2 separate regions of the Homo sapiens genome follow, and region 2 is linked to region 1. The links are contacts of gene promoters, found by promoter capture Hi-C in human tissues and cell types (Jung and others, 2019). All regions are on one chromosome and are shown on one strand. The core of a region is centred on a gene start or on the middle of the fragment in contact, and the rest is flanking DNA. Distances in the headings are between cores, read along the strand shown. Region 1 holds the start of IL17D (interleukin 17D). Region 2 overlaps CRYL1 (crystallin lambda 1).

Evidence for each region. Contacts are between HindIII fragments. The study calls those that stand out against the background at their distance.
Region 2: a contact is called between a fragment that was not itself captured here and the fragment with the promoter of IL17D in region 1, in 1 of the 25 tissues and cell types used here (mesendoderm cells).

Annotation. Positions count from the first base shown.
Region 1 is chr13:20,702,154-20,706,715 of GRCh38, forward strand. IL17D (interleukin 17D) reads left to right here and starts at 1,546. Exons shown (of 2, transcript NM_001385224.1): 1 at 1,546-2,138. The coding sequence starts at 1,849. RefSeq lists silencers at 928-1,007, 1,428-1,567, 1,858-2,367. The HindIII fragment of the contact is 9,244 bases long and covers 1-3,985 here.
Region 2 is chr13:20,413,847-20,418,006 of GRCh38, forward strand. The region is part of intron 5 of CRYL1 (crystallin lambda 1); the gene reads right to left. Among named protein-coding and RNA genes, the nearest start is that of MIR4499, 18 kb to the right of the region's middle. RefSeq lists enhancers at 1,432-2,013, 2,014-2,595. The HindIII fragment of the contact is 4,144 bases long and covers 637-4,160 here.

The DNA.
Region 1 (4,562 bases), core at 296-2,795:
TTTACTGGAAACAAAGAACATGAACAATTTACTAGTCAGAAAAAAAGTGTTTTATAACCCAAAACAAATATTTGCCAAGAGCTGTAAATTGCTTAAATCGCTTAAACTGGAGATTTCAGTGAGATTTTTAGCAGTAGATTACTAAGCTCCTTAGTTATAGAACATTCAATGCATAGGAAAGTGTTTTTCCTACAAAGCATAACTGAAATGTAGTTTAACTAATGGTTTACAATTCAGTCAAATACCAAAGCTGCAAACCATTTAGGGAGTCATCAATTACATATTTTGTACACTTTCAAAAAGCTTACAGCTGGGATGGGTTGTTTATTTTCAAAGCATGACTGCTTTAAAATGATCATATTCTTTAGCCTGCCACCTAGGAAGCATTAAGCATTTACTTGCAGAATGAACAAACGAGCACGTTGTCTTGTGTTATGAAGTATATAATATAGTTCGTTTTAGTTTCTTCATTCGCAGACTATCAGGCTCATTTCACGTGACTGCTTGCACTTAGAACTGAGTTATCACGGAGTAGGAACTCTCCAACATCGTCGTCATAGACCAAGAGATGCCCATGAACAGCCATGAAAGTGCCAGTCAGGGAAGTATTCAGTGCTTTGTTGTAGAGTTGTTGGATAGAGGCACAGGATCATTTCATGTTGTTGAGGAGAAAGGAGCAACAGCCTCCTCCCACCTTATTAAAAATAGAGATTTAAAAAAACCTCTAATTTCCTCGAAGTACAGAATCTCAAGAGGTAGCTCTAAGGAGAATCCCTCTGGGTTTGAGCGCATTCCTCTTCCAGGGGGCCTATTCTTGGACTGCTTTCCTTAATAGAGAAATCTCTCTGAGCCAAAATCGGCCTCCCCCAATTCCATCCTGTCGGCCCCACTTTTCTGCTTCGGAGACTTCCAAGCCAGTCCCCACTCCTCCTTCAGCCAGTCGGGCCCGCACCCGCGCCCGGCAGGGCCAGCCCTCTCCTCCTCCTGCGTGGCGCAGCACAGGCCCTGAGCGCGCGACCCCAGGCCCTGGGCGCCCCGCCGCATGCTCGCGGCTGGAAGCCCCAGTTTGCGTGGCCCTTCGGGTTATTCCGCTCAAGAGCCGCCGCGTCGCCCCATCTCGGCGCGAATCTGAAAGCGCTTTCGGGGGAGAAGATGTTGGGGGCACTGGTGAGTACACTGCACAAGTGACAAAATGTTTTCAGCTCCTGGAGGCGAAAGGTGCAGAGTCGCTCTGTGTCCGTGAGGCCGGGCGGCGACCTCGCTCAGTCGGCTTCTCGGTCCGAGTCCCCGGGTACGAGGAAAGACCACAGGGGGCTTCTCGCGGAAAAGCGGGCCGCGGACCCTGCGCGGGCTGGCTGGGGCGGGCGGATGACGAGGCGCAGGGGCAAGGGTGGGTCTGCGAGGCGGCGGGTCCGGGCGTCTTAGGCTCCGGGGCTCCCTCGCTGGCGGCGGAGCAGGGATGGCGCGCCCGGGGGTGAGGGTGCGGCGGGTCACAAGCACTCGCAGCCCGCGGCGCAGCAACCCGGCAGGCACACGCACACGTGCACGCGCGCCCCGCACCCGCCCCCCGTGCGGCCCCCGGCTCGGGGCGGCGGCGGCGGCGGGGGCCGGGGGCGCGCGGGCCGGCGCCGGGCTGGGCCCCGGGGACCCCGCGGGCGGCGGGCAGGCGGGGAGGGCGCTCTGGGGCCCGCCCGCGCGGCTCCCATCCTCCGGGCCGGCCTCTGGCTCCGCGGGGCGAGGGGAGGCGCCCGCCGGCTCCGGGCGCCGCGGGCGGGACACGGGCGCGGGGCGCAGGCGGGCTCCTCCGGCGCGTGCGGACGCTGAGCGTGGCCTGTCCCTCAGGTCTGGATGCTGGTAGCCGGCTTCCTGCTGGCGCTGCCGCCGAGCTGGGCCGCGGGCGCCCCGAGGGCGGGCAGGCGCCCCGCGCGGCCGCGGGGCTGCGCGGACCGGCCGGAGGAGCTACTGGAGCAGCTGTACGGGCGCCTGGCGGCCGGCGTGCTCAGTGCCTTCCACCACACGCTGCAGCTGGGGCCGCGTGAGCAGGCGCGCAACGCGAGCTGCCCGGCAGGGGGCAGGCCCGCCGACCGCCGCTTCCGGCCGCCCACCAACCTGCGCAGCGTGTCGCCCTGGGCCTACAGGTGAGCCGCGGGCGCGTCCTGGCGGGGCCCGGCAGGTGGGGAGGGCAGGGCTGGGCGGGGAGAGTGGGTGGGGCCGGGCCGAGGCCGGGCAGGCGGGGAGGGTGGGGCGGGGAAGGGGAGGTGGTTGGGGCGGGGCGACGCGGAGGGGGCGTGGCACGCGGGGCGAGGCGGAGCAGGTAGGGGTGGGGTGGTGCGGGGCGAGACAGGGTAGGGTACGGTAGGGTGGGGTGGGGTGCGAGGGGCGCTGCGATGAGGCGGGGTGGGGCGGGGCAGTTGGAGCACTGGGGGGCAATTCCTAAACTGCGAAGGCCCACCCCCACCACCTCCCTTGAAGGAGTCCTGCTTCCTCTCTTTACCCTCCAGTATTTCCTATGCAACACGTATCTCTTGAACACCTCATCTCCTCCAGGTTGGATGGGTCCGCAAGGCACTAGCTGGGGACCCTTCCGTGATGTGGACACAGTGATGTGGACCGTACTCTGCACAGGGGGCCCGGGGAGGTGCTGCTGGGGGGTGCGCGGTACTATCCACATATTTCCTGAGTGCCCCTGTGGTCCAGAGGCTGCTGGAGTGGAGCCCTGGGAAGCGCCCTCTGAGCCCCTCTAGTTTAATAGCCTAAGGAAGGAGTGGGGATAATTGGGAAAGAAACCACACCATCAGGCAGTGCATGAAGTGACATGAACAGTTTCGAGAGTATTTTGGTCTTGGAACAGAGGTCATTTCAGAAGAAAGGGACAGCCTGCAGAAGGGGAAGGCTGGAGAAGTTGGGGGCGTGTAGGCAGGGTGCCGCAGTGTCCTCAGCAGGCACCTGTGACCGTCTTCCCTCTAGCTGGAGCAGGAGGAGCTGCCCTAGGGGGCAAGGCCTCCCAGGGCCACAGAGGTCAAGAAAGGCTTCGTGAAAGAGCTGAGTCTTGATGGAGGAGAGCAAGTCGCCTACAAAGGCAGTGCTGAGGGAAGGGACAGCTGATAGCAAGCGGGAACAAAGCGCTTGGAAAATGGGGAGAGCCACAAGGCGAGCGGGGGCGGTGGGGGTGGGGGGGCGTAGGCGAGGTGTTTGCCTGTGGGGTGGGCATCGATGTAAGGCTGGAGACAGGTGCAGGAGCTGGATCCCCGCCTTGTCAGCAGTGCAGAGCTTCACCCTCACGCCTGGAATCCCAGCACTTTGGGAGGCCGAGGCAGGAGGATTTAAGTCCAGGAGTTCGAGACCAGCCTGGGAAACATAGCGAGATCCCATTTCTGCAAACAATTTTTAAGGATTAGCGAAGTGTGGTGGCACGTGCCTGTGGTCCCAGCTACTCCAGAGGCTTAAGTGGGAGGATAGATTGAGCCCGGGAGGTTCAGGCTGCAGTGAGCTGTGGTGGCGCCACTGCCTTCCAACCTGCGTGACAAAGCGAGACCCCGTCTCTAAAATAAAAATTAAAGAGAAAAAAAGTCTTGACACTTGAGATGGAGGAAGCCATACAGCCACTCTGGTTTAGGAGGGTGTCCCAATGGGGCATGGATTGGACAATGCTCTCCAGCACTTCCATCCAAAGGATCTAGGGCTTCACTCAGGCAGCGCGGTGGGAAGGGGAGACTAGGATCAGCGTGAAAGATGCTCATTAAAGAAGACAAGTGCTGTGGAGAGTCAGAGGAAATGTGATGATTTTGTCTAAAACGCATCTGGGCTTTCCTGGAGCCTCTCCCTGCCGGCTGCTGGGTAGGGAGATTTCCTTTTACTCAACAACACACAGGACCCCTATGCTGTCCTGGGAAGCCAAGTTTTAGGGCCTCCTGCCTCCTGGCTACTCTGCAGAGGACCAAGCTCACTGTGGCAGAGCCCCCTCAGAGCCCCTGCCCACGGGGAAGTTGGGTGGGACCCCTCCCGCCCTTCTCACTCCTGTCCTTCAGCTGGAGCCTGCAGGGCACACACATGGCGCCATTCATTCTGGTATCTTGGTGCTCTTGCTTTTCCTCTCTCTTCCTCCATTTCCAGGACCTGAAGGGATGGACTACGGCATTCTTCTTTCTCTAACCTCGTGTTATGCTTCTGATATACCAAATAGGATTAAAGCCACATAAGGAATCTCTCAGAACCAGAGATTAACTTCTCTGGACAGAAGCTGCTGGCCCTGCTTTCTATAGCAGATTCGAACTCTCAGGCAAACCCGTGGCTCCCCACAGGCTGGGCCAAGGGCCTAAGAGTAGTATATAGCCTCCCAAAGGCATGTCTCTCATGTTTCTGGCTTGGGTTGTTGATGGTATTTGAGCAAAATGAGAAAATACACTTAGGAACAAGTGTTGTGGGAGGAAATAATGAATTTAGTAACAAGCCTGTTGAGTTTTGCCTGCCTGAAAGGCGTACAGGTGACAATGACTGGTTGGAGCTCAGGAGACAGAGCAGGGCTGGAGGACACATGGAGAGTTAGCAGCACTGGCATTCTG
Region 2 (4,160 bases), core at 1,459-3,958, 290 kb before region 1:
TTGAATTTTGCATGACAAAACTATAATATTATCATATGTTATAAATGGCTTGGCGTGGTGGCTCACACCTGTAATCCCAGCACTTTCGGAGGCTGAGGTGGGGGATCACCTGAGGTCAGGAGTTCGAGACCAGCCTGGCCAACATGGTGAAACCCTGTCTCTACTAAAAATACAAAAAATTCGCCGGGCATGGTGGTGCATGCCTCTAGTCCCAGCTACTCAGGAGGCTGAGGCACGAGAATCACTTGAACCCAGGAGGCAGAAGTTGCAGTGAGCTGAGATCATGCCACTGCACTCCAGCCTGGGCATCAGAGCAAGACTCTGTTTCAAAATAAATAAATAAATAAAAATTAAAAAAATACACACACACACACACACACACATATGTATACACTAAAAAGAGATTTTTTGTGTGTGTGTGTGTGTGTGTGAAATGGTCAAACACAAATTCACCTTTTCCATCCCTGCAATCTACTAGGGGTTGAAATCAATTCCTCTTGACCTCCCTGCCTCCTTAGCTCACCCTACAACCTACGGACCGCCTGCAGCTGCAGGGAGTGAGAGAAGCTGACGACAAGGGGAGCGTGAGGACGGGGCATCGTAGTAAAAGGACATGAAGGATTTTCTAGATTTCTGCCTAGGACCCAGGGGGGAGTAAGATTAGAGCCATCAAAAGACGTGGGAAGGTGCTCTCCAGGCTTCACATGCCTGCAAGTCCGGCCTTGTTCAGCTTTTAATGAGTTCGTAAAAAGTGATATTCTTTGATGAAATGCAGCTTAGAACCATGGGTTTGTTTGCTAAGGTGGGGCCCTGGAATCTTCTGCAATGTAAATTGCAAAGCAAGAGGCAAGTTGTTATGTATTAAGGTTAGACGTCTGATCAGCCACCTGTGTTCCTTGGCCTCACGTGGCTTTGGGATGGAGGCAGGCAAGCGCAGATAATGATCTGCAAGAGCTGCGCTCCACTGAGGTCCCTCCCGTCAGAGGATGCCTCCCCCTTGGGCATTTCCACTGTCAGGAGGGCGGACGGAGGGAAGCCGCCACCTTTTCCCCTACGCCTTCACGGCTCAGACAGGCAGCACTCCCGCGGAATCCGCCGCCCCAGGTCTCATCTGAGCGCTGTCTTTCACCAGAGCTCTGTAGGACTGAGGCAGTAGCGCTGGCCCGCCTGCGAGAGCCCGACCGTGGACGATGCGTCGCGCCCTTCCCATCGCGGCCTGGGCGGGCCCGCCTGCCCTCGGCTGAGCCCGGTTTCCCTACCCCGGGGCACCTCCCCTCGCCCGCACCCGGCCCCAGTCCCTCCCAGGCTTGCGGGTAGAGCCTGTCTTTGCCCAGAAGGCCGTCTCCAAGCTGGGGGCTTGCTCCGCCCGGAGGGCTCTGCGGGGACCCTGGCACAGCGGCCTGCAGGGAGGCACCCTCTGCCCTGCTGCGAGCCTGGGGCGCCTGGGCCTGGCCTCGAGGTTCCTGGGCCTCCAGGGCAGCCCCAGGGGTCCCCCGAGAAGCGAGAAAAGGGGTTCGAAACCCCCGCCGTGCCCCGCAACCGGCTGCGGCGGGCGACAGCCAGGTGCCTCAGGTCCGTGTGCTGGCTTGGACACCGCCCTGCGTCTGCAGAGAGCGCGGCGGTGAAGCGGGAGCAGGCGGCCTGGCCCAGGAGCCAGGACGGCCACAGCCACGCCACCACCGGCGAGGGCGAGGGCCAGGGCCACTCACTGTGACCCGCGACTCCCTTTTAGAGAGCCACTTTGCGTTTCGTTTTGTTTGCGCACACGGGACACAAGCATATCGAGGCTGAACAAGCCACAGTCCACGTTTCCAGGAGAATTACAAAGCAAACGCTTGGCCTCGCCTGCCGCAGACTCCGCCCGCTTCTAGAGGCCCGCACCCTGACTCCTGCAATTGCGGCTTTCCCGCTTTTCAGACTGGCCGCCCGTGTTCACATTCCTCAGCTGCAGCGTTTGCTGCTGGCCCATTTCTAATCTTCCTGTAAGTGGAATCACTGAGCGCGCGTTCTTTCGTGACTTGTCTCTCACCATCCTGTTTCTCAGATTCACCTGCGTCATGTGTCCATCTCCTTGATGCAGAGATATGAGTTTAGTCATCCACCCTGCGGCCATGAGCCTTTGGCTAGTCTGGGGCTCCTGTGAGCAGGGCAGCCAGGGTCACGCGCACAGGGCCCGGGCCGCGGCTGGGGCCCAGAGCATCCTTCTCCCCGTCACTGCGGCGCCCCGGCCTCCAGAATTGTGTAGAAGAGGTCCCGTCGCGCCTCAGCCTCGCCACGCTTGGTGTCCTCACCCTTGCAAAGTTTCGCTAATCTGGTAGGGTGAAATGGTATCTCACCAGGTTTCCTTCGAGTTCTAAATCACCCTACCACATGTTCACTGACTGCTAAGGAGAGTGAATCAGTCTGTGCAAGTCACTGCAATGCTGAGGAGGGTCGCCTCCTTTCACTCCCAATAGCGAAGCTGTAACGGGTCGGGGCATCACGGGGGCTGGGGGATATCTACCTAAGGCCCACAGAAACTCCCGGAACCGTCAAGAATCCCGTGTGGAACACAGGCATTGTCGCCTCCTCTCCCTGGCAGGAGGTCTGGAGGCAGGAAGGGTGGCTCCCTGCCCTCTCTCCAGGCTGCTGGAAGGCCTGGGCTGTGGCCCCTCGCACCCCCGTGGGCTCTGGAATGCTGTGAAAGGCAGCCAGGCGGCCTGCAGTCGCTCCCTCACCCTTGCTTTCCAGGCCAACATTCCAAACAGCCCCAAGTTTTCATTTTAGTATTCAAACTGGGAAGTATGCAAACATGGAAGCCACCCTATACTTGCAGTGTTATTTGGCTTGGCTCTTTTAGAATCGTATTTAGTATTTTTAGAGCTGATTTTTAAAAAATCATTTTTAGGATTGCAAAATAGAAAAAAGGTGAGCCACTCAAGAGTAGGTCCTTTTTGGTTTGTATCATCTGAGCTAACAGCCCCTAACTAACGCCTGAGAAGGGTTCTCCATGCTGCCCCATGACCTGGGAGGAACCACATTCCCTCCAACTCCCATGTTCTCAGTTCTGCCTGATTTCATCTAGAGGAGGGCTGTGGGTCTTCCATCAGTCACTATTCACCAGTAGAACAAGTTAGAAAGGGAAAAACGTTTTGATACTTTCCCTTCCTCACTGCTTCTTTCTGCCCATTTGAATTTCTGAAATGGATTTCTCAAAGCTTGAGTTTTTACCAAGAAGCTAAATATAGAGAAAGAAAAGGACCACAAGGCATTCAGTTGAGAAGCTCCACAACTAGGATATCATGTCCCCAAGGCAAACGTTTGAGTTTCTCCCTGCTGCACTTGGTGCTGAACTAAAGCTTTTCCATTTAGGATGTTTTGAAGCTCAGGTTGCTTAATTTTGCCACTGAGCTTAATTCCACCCAAAGCCTTGTGACATCTGTGGCCTAATATTATCATAACAATGACAAATAATCATTTGTCATTGATAAATAATCGCAGCAGCATGACAGGCAGAAACAAGTGCTTGTGTTGAAACAGGGAACTGACAAGCGATTCCTTATAATAGGTGACGGGCAACACAGCTGTGCGGAGATGGGAACCCTACCTGAGTCCAGCCCTTCTGTGGTTCTGTTAACATTGATCAGTTTAGCAATCAGTACTTACTCCATTTTAAGGTAAAATTCTCAAGTCACACATACAAAGAAAAGATTATTTAAAAATCATACAAAGCAATGAATACTACAATCACTGTTAGTTCAAAACATGGTTTCGCGTCCTGAAAATCATTGGGCAAAGAGATCCCAGACAGTGTTAAGGAACCCCTTTTATTGAAAAACTCCTTGCTTCTGCTTCCTTAGTTAAAACCTGAGATTTTTCCACAGTGGAGTAACACATGCATAGCTGGGGCACATATTTTGCACCTGATTTGGTAGGAGAAAATGCCCAGGCTGAGAGGAGCCACAAGACATCCGTGAAGTAGGAGAAAATGCAAGATAGTTAATAACGTACCCAACTGCTATGAAACAAATGTTAAGTCGAATGAAAGGTTTAGGGATGTATCACTCAGGGTTCTACCAGACAAAGCCAGTAAGATTCACACACATACACACATACATCAAGAGATTTATTTCAAGGAATTGGCTCATGTGACTGTGGGCCTGGCAAGTCAGAAAGCCATG